Linked DNA regions of Homo sapiens: regions 2 and 3 are each linked to region 1. The links are contacts of gene promoters, found by promoter capture Hi-C in blood cells and fetal thymus (Javierre and others, 2016). All regions are on one chromosome and are shown on one strand. Each heading gives the region's core, a stretch centred on a gene start or on the middle of the fragment in contact. The rest is flanking DNA. Distances are from core to core; before and after follow the strand shown. Region 1 holds the start of ZEB1-AS1 (ZEB1 antisense RNA 1). Region 2 has its middle 26 kb from the start of LINC02644. Region 3 has its middle 81 kb from the start of LINC02644.

Region 1 (4,387 bases), core at 1,162-3,661:
TGTTAGAAGATTTGGGCTACCAGTAATATTCACTGTGCATATTTTAAAAAAAAAGGTGAACAGAGTTCATTGTTTAGGGAAAATGATTATGGAGAAACTAAAATCAAGAGCAATTTTAATGTGGATATTAATGACAGTGATCACTTTCATATCCATGACTTTATCTGTTCCTAAGGACTAAAGGGATGAAGGCAGATTATGTACCTTACTGTCAAGAACAGGGTCAGAAAAGGTCAACAATATTAATTTAAGAAATGTTTATTAAGCATCTACTATTGGCTACGTACTCCACTAGGTGTTGAGGACATAGAAATAAGAAAAAAAAGTTACCTGAAAAGGTACTTGTCCACAGTTTGGCCCAAACTAACTAAACCAGAAACCACTAAAGTAAGGAAGAAAATGACTTCTGTTTGTCTCTTCACTTCATCTCTCTATGAGGTGAGGATGAACACTGAAGGAAGCTTAGCAGGGAGGTACAGGCCAGAAAGAGAACATGAGAAAATGCTATTTGTAATACCTCCTAAGTTTAAGAGTAGGTAAAATGTGTGATAGAGCTGGAAAGTTTTTTTTTCCTTTCTGGTCAGAAATCAGGGTAGCTGTAAAAATGTTGGTGGGGTGGGGTCAATTCCATAGTCTATGACCTGATTCGGTAGGCGACTGAAAAACATTGTACAACTCTTAAAAAAAGGGAGGAAGAACTCACACTTAACCAAGCAAAGCAAGGACACCGTGTTGACATACACAAGTTTCGGTTAACATGGTATCAAGGAAAGCGAGGACTGCCTGTACTTAAAATGATCATTAAGACTAATGATTCTAGTTTTGGCATTGAGGATGAATGCAGATATATAGACATAATGTATAGCAAAGAATATTTACAGTCACATTTCATGGACCAATAAATAACGCATTTACTTCTCAAAATGCCCAAGAAAATGTGGGAGAGAAAATGTTCATTTATATTCAAGATTAAACTTTCTAACTTTAAATCATCAGACTTCAGCTGTAAATTTATTTCAGTTGAAAGGTTTGAAGACATTATTAATGAATATTCTAAAATTCCGGAAGGTGTTTAAAAGATAATTTTAACCTAATAAAAAAATCCTGCCATAGAAGTGACAAAAATTATAAGCATAAATTTATTGAGCACCTACTATGTGTCATTGTGCTAGGTGATGTACTACGTTATTTCCAATACTCCGGTCACGTTTCAGTTTTCTCAATTTCTCTATCAATAACTGCTACATTGTTAATTTATAACTATATTACTTGAAATACAGCTCAGCTTATTTATTCCATAAAGTTGGTCCCAAAGACGTTTCCTTATTCGAAGGAGGTGGGAAGCAGGAAGGAAACCTAAATCTAAATTCTACTTAATACTGAAGACGACTTTCTTGATATTTGTGGTTATCTGTATGGTCTTTTCAGAAATCCCAAAACTTGTACCAAGTCAAGGATAAAATAAGATAAAATCAGCAATCTATCAGGTTCAGAGATCACATCTGTCAGCCGATGCTTCTTGCCTTAAGGTCCTGCACGGCGATGACCGCTCATTTAGGAAGGAATTCATGGCCTGTGGATACCTTAGCTCTGAGTCCTGCCACCTAGGATCCCACGGTTCTACGCGAGGAAGAGGGCGGGGAGCGCGGACCGGGTGTGGGAGGCCGAGGTGACAGCAGGTGAGGGCCGGGTGCGGATGGGGAAGTGAGACAAGCACCGTGTGGGTATTACTCATTCCGCTCTACTAAGGAGGCTGCTGGCAAGCGGAACTTCTAGCCTCTCTTTCAATCCAGCTGAAGTTCAATCTCATTGAAGTCACTTCCCATCCCGGTTCGCTTGGGGGGAAACCAGGCGTCCCTGGAAGGGAAGGGAAGGGAGTCCGGGCTGCGCGGGTCAGGTAGCCTCTCTCCGGTCGCCGCGTGTCCTCGCCGTCCCCAAACCTGCCCTTCCCCTCATCAAGGGAACTCCCCGGGGAGTCCAGACCGCGATCCCTTTCCTTGGCCCCGGGGTGCGGGGGGCGGACACGCGAGGCGTGGGACTGATGGTAGCCCTGCCTCCAGGAAGCAGGCAGGCGGGGACCTCTGGGCGCTCGGAGGGGCAGCTCCGAGGGCACAGGGTACAGGGAGAATCAGCCAGATCCCTCCCTGCCCCGGGCAGCCGCGGCGGGTGTGGCCAGCGCGGAGGCAGGACGCCGCCGAGCCTCCAACTTTACCTTTCCAACTCCGACAGCCCGTCGCCTTTCTGACCGCGTCCCTACGGTTTCCCGGCATCCGCCTCCCTCTCCCCACCACACCTGAGGAAAACTTTTCCCTCGCCCCTCAATTCAAATTCAGCAGTGCCCACGGTTGCCGCAAACCGCCCGGTCCCTAGCAACAAGGTTCCGGCCGTAGAGCGAGAGCCTCTAGGTGTAAGGAAGGTGATGTCGTAAAGCCGGGAGTGTCGTAAACCAGGTGCGGTGGGGAGGGGGGAGGGGTGGAGGCGGAGGGGTGGGGGGGAAGGGGGAGGGAGGGGGAGGAGGTGACTCGAGCATTTAGACACAAGCGAGAGGATCATGGCGGATGGCCCCAGGTGTAAGCGCAGAAAGCAGGCGAACCCGCGGCGCAATAACGGTGAGTGGCGGAGGGGACCGGGGAGCGGCGGAGTCAGGGGGAGCTGGGCAGCCGGGGCGCCCCCGGGGGTGAGGGGGGCGAGCCGGGCTGGGGGCAGCCGGGGCAGGGACGGCAAAGTGGAGTGGGAAAGTAGAAAGTAGTGCTCTCTGCCCCCCTCCGCTGCCGCCGCTGCCGGAGCCGCGCCGCGGCCGCTCGCTCTCCCTGAACCGTTATGTCTCTTACCTGGTCTCTCTCCGCCTAGCGGCTCCCGCCGCCCCTGCCGCCTCCCTGGACCGTTAGCCGGCGCCGACGCCGCCGCATCCCCGGCGCAGGGCGGGCGGCCGGGACGCACTGGCCACTTTTCTGGTCCCGGGTGGAGCGGCTGTTGCTTCTTTCCGCACTTTTCCCCACTCTTGTGCCCTTCGGCGCCTCCCTCTCCCCCTCCTCCTGGCCCCCTCAGCGCGATTCTCCCTCAGCGCCCAGGCCCCCGGGAGCCGCGGAACAAACTTGTGCCCGGCGCTGACCGTGCAAAGTGGCTTCCGCGCGCCGCGGCCCCGGCCGGCGCCGTCGCTGTCGCTCGGGCCCCGCGACTCGGGCCGGGCTGTGGGCGCGCGGCAGGCGGGCTGCGGCGGCGGCGGGACGGGGCGGCCGCGGGTTGCGTGGGGTTTGTGCGCGCGTGTGCGCGGGCGCCGGCTGTGCGCGCCGCGGGCGGACAGGGTTCGGCCGGCGGCGGTAAAGTTGGGACCCGCGGGCCGGGCGCGCTCGCGTAACGGGGATTAGAGGCGCGGGGGCGCGGGTCCCTAAGCGCCCCTCCTCCCTGGCGCCTCCCGCTGCCCGGCCCAGAGCCCCGGCCTGGGGACTCCGCGGCGAGCCCCGCGAGTGGGGTCCACGTTTGGCGGGGCGCGGCGGGGCGGCGCGGGGAACAAGGCAGGAAAGGTACCCACTTAACGCCGCCGGGAGCCGCGCGGATGGGGGCGAGCTGGGCGGCGGGTGTGTTTGCGGAGTTGTTACCTGGGCTTAGAGACCGGGAAGCACCACAGACAGATCCCCCTCCCGGGGCAGACGAGGTCTCTGCGCCGGGATGGGCCGGTGTGCGTGCGCCTCGCGCTTTTCTCTTTCGGTTTTTGGGGAAGTTGTTACCTGGGCCGGACGCACGGAGCGCTGAAGCCGGATAATGGGGCTTGGATGGCGCTCTGGGTCTCGGGTGGAAGGAGGGTGGGGGAGGGGGCGGACGGACCGACGGACGCGCGGGGCTGCTACTTGCACCGCAGCTGCAGTGTTTATTGATTTGTGCTGCTGTGCCAAGGGAAACACACACCCCTCTGCCTGGCGTGAGAGTTAAAAAAAAAGAGAGACAGCCCGAGGGATCGAGACCTGAACATGTGGTGGTGGTTGCACAGTCGCCTTTTCCAGTTTGGAGAGACGTTGTAAGTTGATTGTATTTCTGGTTATCTCGGGGCGATGCTATGCTTTCTCTCCCTCTCGTGCAGCAGCGAAATGTCTGCTGATTGTTATTGTCTGGACAGTTCCTGTGGCGAGAGGGGCGAGACTTGTCCGCCCGGGGGCGGCGGGAGCGCAGGGAGAGCAGCCCCCGCCTGCGCCGCCCCGGTACCTGTTTGTATAATAATGGGCGGCAACGGCCCTGCCGCCGGCCGCAGCCCAGGCTATATAAGGAATTACACGTACATTTCGGACCGAGGGGCTCGCTTTGGTTCCTGCGTTATTTTTAAAACGACTTTTAAGAGAGGGGCAATAAATGCGTCTATAATGGGACCGCTGCAGCGTCGAGAAAACGAGGA
Region 2 (4,387 bases), core at 1,149-3,648, 570 kb before region 1:
GCAGTGGCTCATGCCTATAATCTCAGCACTTTGGGAGGCCAAGGCAGGCGGATCACTTGAGCCCCAGGAGTTTGAGACCAGCCTGGGCAATATGGCAAAACTCTGTCTCTACTAAAAATACACACAAACACACACACACACACTTAGCCTGGCATGGTGGTGCACGCCTATAGTCCCACCTACTTGGGAGGCTGAGATGGGAGGATGGCTTAAGCCCAGAAGTTTGAGGCTGCAGTGAGCCGTGACTGGACCACTGCACACCAGCCTGGGTGACAGGGCGAGACCCTGTCTCAAAAAAAAAAAAAAAAAAAAAAGACCTGGCAGGAGAGCAGTGTGGACACTGTCCTCCATCAGAGCGAAGGGTGCGTCTGCTGTGTGTCTGCTGCCTCCCTAACACTGACTCAGGGGTTGGGGACCAGACACGGCATTTGGATGCAGGAAAATGCCGGTGACTCATCCTCCTCTCGAAGGCTGGGCCAGATCACAGCACACTCTTGAGGTGAAGGTACCTCATTTGAAATTCACCAAAAACTCCCAGCGTCTCAAACAGTTCCTTCCGTCTGAAAAGTTGTATAAGATTTGTCACAGTTGGCCATCGCAAGTTCCAGCTCTAGAATTTAATCATCATATTGAACAACTAATTTCTAAATTGGTCTGTGATCAAGACCGCTTTGTAGGACTATTAATTGCTTGAAGTTTGCAGCCAGAAAATATGCGACAGCCTAGATTTTATGGCTCGTTCTAGATAATAGTGACATATGACTGAGAAATGCATCTGCTTCCCAACTCCATAAATTGGATGTTGTTTATAATAATGTAGCTAGAGCAGTAACACTTTATCTTAAGAGCTGCTGTCCCCACGGAAAGTCATTATTCAGTGTACACTTGATAAATTGGTCATCATTCACAGGCAGAAGAGAAATTGATGTGTCCTGTTTTATTTACAGAGGAACAGGCAATATGTTATCTGCTTATTGGACTGATGTTTTTCCTACCAGAAGGATTATGTTGCCTCCTGCGTGTCACTCAGAGAATTTTGTCAATGTCATCAGTCTTAAAAGCTTTATTGCCCGGAGCATAGGAAAAACCCTTTCTAGTCCCAGAATGATTTTCAGAGGAAGACCTTGGAAGGAGATTCTCTTTAGATACAATTTAATTTCTTACTTCCCAAATGGAAAAACAAAGAGGAAATGATAAATGACCAAGATAAGCTTTGTTCCCAACACTGGCCATGTCATGACAGGCAAGGCCTGATTTCACTCCCCACCCCCTTCAATACAGAAAGACAACAGTTAACCGTGGTTCAGTAGATGCTGTGCTGCTGATCGAGGCTGGGCCTTCCAGCCCCATGGACAAGCATCCTGACAGTGAACTTAGCAAGCTCTCCCTGGAAATTAAAATCTAGCTGAAAGGAGAGCATGACATCACTGCAGGAGACAGAGCCGTGTCATGAATCTCCCACTCTGGAGGCTCTGGGCCCACCCCTGGGGTATAAGCACTGTGGCCTGTGTACTCTGCTGCAGCTGGAACCAGAAGGAAAGCATCCCGGGACCCTGGTTTCACTGATTCTCTTCAACAGCTACATGAACTTGTGCACAGTGTGCTGGCAAAGTGCACAGGAGCTAAGCATCCTTTGAGAATGGCAGTCAGGCAGGACCTAGGCTCTAAGTCACCCTTCTCACAAGGTCTCAGGCTCCTCTGAGGCTATGGAGACTTATCCTAACATCTAGTACTTTCCAAGCACTAGATTCTCATGATGTGGCTCTCAGGTCACACAGCAGCCTCACAGTTTTCAGCCTCTCTTAACTCAATATAGTAATTCCCTACTCCCACCCTCCCCTGTGCCTTTTAAAAGACAGGGTCTCACTCTTTTGCCCAGGCTAGAATGAAATGTTGCGATTACAGCTCACTGCAACCTCGAACTCTTGGACTCAAGTGATCCTCCCATCTCAGCCTCCCAAGTAGCTAGGACTATAGGTGCTCACCATGCCCATCTAATTTTTAAAATTATTTGTAGAGATGACATCTTGCTTTGTTGCCCAGGCTGTTCTTGAACTCCAGGCCTCAAGTGATCCATCCACCTCTGCCTCCCAAAGTGCTGGGATTACAGACATGAGCCACCGTGCCTGGCTGTAATTCACATTTAATTAATCTCCAGGCATTCGCTGAATCTCCAAGGCACGTATGACATCATGCTATCAGGACGGGGTCACAGATGTGCAACTGCAACCACACGTGTACAGCATTCCAACGTTTTCCAATGCTTTTCCATGCACTGTCTTGAGATGATGCAACCATTGATCACAGTGGGAACTAAGAAACTCCTGCTCCACCACTGCCTGAGTGTGTGCCCTTGAGCTGCCTCTGTGTGGCTTGACGCCCGTCTTCTCTGTAGAAAAGCAGGGCCTATGCTGGTGCCAATGCAGTTGGGCTTCTCTGAGGATCAAATGAGATCACCCACAATGAGCCTTCATTCGGTGTTCCGGCCATCATCCCACTAACCCTACTCCACAAATGAAGAAATACTGTTACAGGGGTGTCAAGAGCAAGAAGTCTAATATAAATAGCTTCAGTGGATATAGCATTTTCAGTGTTTTCAGTTTTCCTCTGCTTTCACACATTTTTTTCTCAGTTTATTTTTTCATACCCTTCTTCTTTTTACAGGTGAGGAGATCAGCAGATAATGTAGGGCAGGGTTCTCACCATTGACATTTGGGGCTGAAAAATCTTTCTGTTATAGGGAGCTGTCCTATGCATTGCAGGACGTTTTACAGCATCCCTGGCCTCCAAGGCCAGTAGCGCCATCCCGGTTGTGACAACCAGAAAAGTCTCTGGTCTCTATAGTCTTCTAGGGGAACAAATTGCCCCCAAGCTGAGAATCACTGGGCGGGGGTGATTTGTTCAACAGCTAATGAGGAGCAGGGAGGCCACGGCTGGACCCCCAGAGCCCCAGAGCCCCCACCTGCAGATGGCTCACCCCCTATCACCACTGTACCTCCCTCTCCTCAAAGGAGTTGTTACAGAGTTGCAGAGGCAAAAATACTAGCAAGTTCTATTTGATACATAAATGCTGTAGGAGTTCAGAAAAGGGGGCATTTGTGATGAAATTCAGGCTAGACAAGATGGTTGAATGAAGGAGATGGAATGTGGCCCGGATCCTGCAGGCTGAAGGGGAGATACAACAGAGGGAAGACCATGTAAGGTGTTGCAGCTGAAGGAACAATGTGCAATGAAGATGGACAGAGGGGCGCGATGAGGACAGAGGGGTCTGCTGTGGAAGAGGGGAAATGAAGCTGGATGGGCGTGGGGACAGGGGACTCAGAACTTGGGGAGCCGTCAGAGGAGCCTGAATCTTATGCAAGACAAAGTCAGGCTCTGAAGGCTCAGCAGGGCTGGTCCTCACAGGGTCCTGGGGGTGTGGGGGTGTTGGAGACCTGCCTGGTAGATGTGCAGGAATCCTGGTGTGAGAAATTCATCTAGAACAATACAGTTCTCCTGTGACCTGAAGAAGGTGCCTTCTCTGCTTTCCACCAGTACTTCTGGTGGGACAACAAACTAAGTCACCAAGGAAAGGTGCTATGTATGCAAAGCTTGGTGGCAATTAAGGGCTCAGTGAGGCAGTTGCATGCAAAGCCCTGCCCCAGGTCCATCTCTGAGTCCAGCTCTGCTCAGAAGCTGTGGCCAATGACTTCTCCTTAAGCCTGGCCAAGTATCACAGAAGCCATTGTTCTTTTCCCACAAGCCCTCCAAAGACAACAAGCAAATGAGTCCTGGATTCGGCTTCTTCTGGGTTCTGAGAATGAGAGTGCAGAGGTGTTTGCTGTAACCACTATTTGGGGAGTCAGGACTTCCTGAGGCAGGCAGCAAATACCCACAGCTTTTACACTCCTACTCCTCAGGAAATCCAGCCTGAGAGAAAACTGAAAAAACCCTCGCCGTGTGCAGGTCATTGGTCTATTTTTATTCTACATGTCGTTGCTTGGTGCACATGTGTCGGTCCCATTGTTCACCTGTGAGAATTTCAACCCAACGTGTGTTTGGGAAGATGTTCTCAGCATTTCCAGTGTGGACATGCCAGTGAGTTGCTGGCAGAGTTCAGAAAGTAATAAGCCATCTGTGTGTGAGGTCCCAGATTGGACAACTTTTGAGAGAAACTGGTGATTCTGCCAGTGCGCTGTAAGACAGAAGCATGTCCTTTTTGTTTTTGCAATATTTCAGTAGACTAGATCTTTCTCCCACGTGGCCGCAAACCATTGGCTGAGTTGTGAACACATTTTTCCAGAAGTATTTACAGTTGCTGGGTACCAGGCTCCATGCTCAAGGCACCATCTCCGGAAGAGCCCTGAGCAAAAGAAACAAGCAGAGAAAATCGACCTAAAAGGACAAA
Region 3 (4,387 bases), core at 1,335-3,834, 510 kb before region 1:
AAAATATTTAGGAGAGAATACAGAAAAAGCAGAATATATATTACAATGCTTTGATACCAAATGTATCAGTAAAGTGTTATTGTAGTTTTTTGTTTGTTTGCTTGTTTGTTTTTTGAGACAGGGTCTGGCTCTGTTTCCCAGGCTGGAGTGCAGTAGCGCCATCTCGGATCACTGCAGTCTCCATCTCCCAGGTTCAGGTGATTCTCCTGCCTCAGCTTCCCAAGTAGCTGGGACTACAGGTGCCCATTACCACGCCCGGCTAATTTTTGTGTTTTTAGTAGAGATGGGGTTTTACCATGTTGCCCAGGTTGGTCTCCAACTCCTGGGCTCAAGCCATGTACCCACCTCGGCCTCCCTAAGTGCTGGATTACAGGTGTCAGCCACTGTGCCCAGCCTAGATTTTTATTTTATTCCTTAAAACCTTACATAATAATTCCATATTTATTTTAAAATCAGAAAAAACTAATTTTTGGAGGAAGAATATGAAGTCTAAAAGGAGAGCTAAGGCAAATACAAAAGTGAGCAGGACTGGGATTCAGCCAGTACACACCAGGAGACTCCATCATGTCTCAGGGTGGCCAAAATGACCCGTGGCCATTTGATTAGCTGGACCCTTGACAGATCATTAAATATATTTAATATCACTCATGCAAATAACTACGGTCAAAGGCAGGAAATGATAAATTTCTTAAAGCCTGGATAAAGTGTTTTTAAAAGTGACATTCCATGAAAAGAATTGTTTGGAGACCACTGACAGTGAAAATGAAATAGACCATCAGGCCAGGCGCGGTGGCTCACGCCTGTAATCCCAGCACTTTGGGAGGCCAAGGTGGGCGGATCACGAGGTCAGGAGATCGAGACCGTCCCGGCTAACACGGTGAAACCCCGTCTCTACTAAAAATACAAAAAATTAGCTGGGCGTGGTGGCGGGCACCTGTAGTCCCAGCTATTTGGGAGGCCAAGGCAGGAGAATGGCGTGAACCTGGGAGGCGGAGCTTGCAGTGAGCCGAGATCGTGCCACTGCACTCCGGCCTGGGCAACAGAGCGAGACTCTGTCTCAAAAAAAAAAAAATAGACCATCATACTCTAAAGACTTTAAAAGTGACTGTGCTTAAGAACTAGAAAAGAATCTTAAAGATCAAAAATGTCACAGGTGGAGAAAAGAAATATTCACCCACTCGTCCAAGGTCTCAGAGATAAGGTGGTGTTAAGTAATTGCATCCCCCAAGTTCATGTGTTGAAGTCCTAACCTCCAGTGCTTCAGAACATGACCTTATTTGGAAATAGGGTCACTGTTGGATGTAATTAATTAAGGTGAGGTCATTAGGACAGGCCCGAATCCAACTGACTGGCTGAATATGACTGGTATTCTTACAAGAAGGGAGAGTTTGGACACAGACACAGACATGCTTGCAGGGGGAACATGTGATCACGAAGCCAGAGGTTGGGTTGATGCTTCTACAAGCCAAGGAATACCAAAGATTGCCAGCAAAGTACCAGAATCTAGGACAGTGGCATGAAACAGATTGTCCCTCATGGCTCTCAGGAGGAACCCACCATGCAACACCTTGATCTTGGACTTCTGGACTCCAGAATGCTGAGACGATCAATTTCTGTTGGTTAACATCCTGGTCTCTGGTGCTTTGTCATGACAGCCCTAGCAAATGAATACAGGTGGGAAGCAGAACTGGACTCAGGTGAGCTGACTCTCAGCCCAGCATGGAGGTCTTTTAACATACTCCAACGTCTAGTAGACATTTCCTGAGTAAATAAATTCTTGAACCCTCTCCGGATGGAGATTTTTGTGGTTTTCATGTTCAGGACAGAACTTACTCTGAACTCCAAGCCAAGCTGAGATCGGAACTTGGACTGGAATTGAAGGGTCCCGCGGGGCTTAGATCGCCAGGTTAACCCATGAGGGTGGAAATGGGTGCTGAAGGTCCTCTCACCTGAGTTAGAGGCAGCAGGAGGGCAGCCCCTGAGGCTGTGGGATGTGGCCTTTGAAGCCTGCAGGTTGCCCTCCAGTGTAGGGTTTTCTAATGAAGACAGAAACAGCAAGTGTTGACCACACTCTTCTCCCAGGCACTTGGCAGCTGTGCTTGCATTCCTCCTCCAGGCCCAGATGTCTCAGGCAGGAACGCTGGGTCCTGGACTTTTAATTCAATCCAGATTGTGTATTGAGTCCTCTTACCATTTGGGCATGAAAAGGAGATGGAAGGGACAGTGTCTGGCTTGGGAAAGCTGACCTTCTGCCTGTGAAGCAAGACCCATCGCCCAGCCTGATATGCAACAGCAATACATCACATATGGGAATCTCACCTCCCACAGAACAGGAAGAGGACGGGACGTGCAGAGGCATGATGTGTTGGCATCATCAACAGGAAACTGACACTCCTGCCCTTGTGGCCTCCCGATACTGTCCTCCATGCTCCAAACTCCCTTCGAAGCAACTGGAGACCCAGAAGGTCAGAATCATTTACGAAATTCATGTCTAAAGGCCACACTGGAAGGTTCACGTTTTAGGATGAAACAAAACAAAACAAAACCCTAGGACCCAAATTTCTTTAACTTGAAGCCAGGGAAGGAGATGCACCCAGCACATATGAGGTGCTGGAGCTCCATGATTGGCAGCCTCTGGGCCACCCCCGGCAGGGCCCTGTCTCCAGCAGGCAGCCTCCTGTCTGTGGTGAGGACTCCTCCACAAAGGACATGTGCTCTCCAGTCCTCAACCCACGCCTGCGTCACCCAGGGTACCCAGCCAGGACTCAGACCAACCGTTTTATGACCCACAGAAACGTTGAAAACAGTGTTTCTCCAGAGCAGCTTTAAATGCAAACAAAAGACTCTTCTAGAAACCATTGCCTCAAGCTGTATGAGGCAAGAGGAAAAAAAAAAAAAAAGAACAGCTCTCAAATTAAAATCCATGATACATTTTGTACATAGATTGTGGTTTTATAGTCACTTTAATCTTCCTCCCCACTAAACTCCTCCAAAGATTTGAACATCAGCCGAGCCAACACACAGTTGCACTTCTAAGCAACACACTTGTAAAACCAGACCCTGGATGGTGTCCATAACAGCTTTGTAACATCTCCAAAGCAAAGGGTGACATGATACATTGAAACAGATCCAAGTAGCCATTACTATGTTTTGTGTCAAAGAGCTGCGTTATTAAAGTCTTGGAACTATAAATCAGAACAGTTGCATGTTGGGGCTTCCTGCTCATCTCCATGTCCCACGTCGGCACAAGTCATTCCAGGGGTCCTGAAGGCTGCCCTGGGTCCACCCGGTATCTGCTGGACAGCTGAGCCCATGGCCTGCATTGTCACTGCTGGGGTGGTTGGCATGGAGCAGAGTGTGGCCCTAGTGGATCAAGGTGAGCTTTCTACAGGGCCCCGGCGCTTGGTGCAGACTTCACAACACCAACATTTTCCAGATTCATCCAGTCCCCCATACCAAGCCCTCAGCGTGCGACTGACCTAAGACTGACAGGAAAAGGCATTTTTGAGCCAGGCACGGTAGCTTGCGTCTGTGATCCCAGCACTCTGGGAGGCTGAGGTAGGAGGATTGCTTAAGGCCATGAGTTGGAGACCAGCCTGGGCAACAAAACAAGACTTCATCTCTATAAAAACTAAAAATAAAAAAAAATTAGACAGGTGTGGTGGTGTGTACCTGTAGTCCTAGCTACTCAGGAGGCTAAGGCAGGAGGATGGCTTGAGCCCAGGAGTTCAAGGTTGCAGTGAGCTATGATCACAGCACTGCACTCCAGCCTGGGAGACAGAGCAACACTCCATCTCCAGAAAAAAAAGGCAGGGGGGCATTATTATTTATTTTCAAAGTCTCAAGTTCAATCAAAAAGAACTGTGATTCTTGGCCTCGCCTTTGCTCCTTCTCTTTTCTGAGGCAAGCCTGGGACCCATGGGCCAGATCAGCTTAGCAAAGCACCTGTTGGACAAGGAAAAATGGAGTTCATCTCCATTTTTGGCATCATAATCTAAGGGAATCGTGTTAGCATTTCACTAAGAGCTAAAATATGACCTGCAGGTGGAGTGAGTTTGTGTGCCCCTCAGTAAGAGAGCAGGGGCTTGGGAATCCAATGCTGGGGTGGAGGCCTGACTCTGTCAATTTGGCGAGTCACCTCCTCATTCTCTCAACAAGCCCCTGGGAGGCACACACCCCTCAGTAGCGAGGAGGGGTGGTCACTGTAAAGGGCTGTGGAAACACTTGTCTGAGGTCCTACCATCACCCCAGAGCTGACCTTTGTTTCATTTCTGTGCATCTCCCACTCTGAAAGGCCCAGGACGTGGATTCTAGATTTCCCACCAATTTAAGCACGACACAACGAGGTCTCACCTAGGAGTGGGCCTAAGTGAAGTAGGGACATCAC

The links. Contacts are between HindIII fragments. The CHiCAGO score rates a contact against its expected background, and 5 or more counts as called.
Region 2: a contact is called between a fragment that was not itself captured here and the fragment with the promoter of ZEB1-AS1 in region 1, in 3 of 17 cell types (erythroblasts, endothelial precursors and fetal thymus). The highest score is 8.5, in erythroblasts.
Region 3: a contact is called between a fragment that was not itself captured here and the fragment with the promoter of ZEB1-AS1 in region 1, in 2 of 17 cell types (fetal thymus and non-activated CD4 T cells). The highest score is 7.0, in fetal thymus.

What each region holds. Positions count from the first base shown.
Region 1 is chr10:31,316,684-31,321,070 of GRCh38, forward strand. It overlaps ZEB1-AS1 (ZEB1 antisense RNA 1), which reads right to left and starts at 2,412. Exons shown (of 3, transcript NR_148979.1): 1 at 2,213-2,412. ZEB1 (zinc finger E-box binding homeobox 1) reads left to right here and starts at 2,533. Exons shown (of 9, transcript NM_001174096.2): 1 at 2,533-2,609. The coding sequence starts at 2,552. RefSeq lists silencers at 1,728-1,787, 2,528-2,977, 3,018-3,107. The HindIII fragment of the contact is 8,209 bases long and covers 460-4,387 here.
Region 2 is chr10:30,747,330-30,751,716 of GRCh38, forward strand. No RefSeq gene overlaps it. Among named protein-coding and RNA genes, the nearest start is that of LINC02644, 26 kb to the left of the region's middle. RefSeq lists an enhancer at 3,987-4,046. The HindIII fragment of the contact is 2,379 bases long and covers 1,210-3,588 here.
Region 3 is chr10:30,801,880-30,806,266 of GRCh38, forward strand. No RefSeq gene overlaps it. Among named protein-coding and RNA genes, the nearest start is that of LINC02644, 81 kb to the left of the region's middle. The HindIII fragment of the contact is 5,425 bases long and covers 1-4,387 here.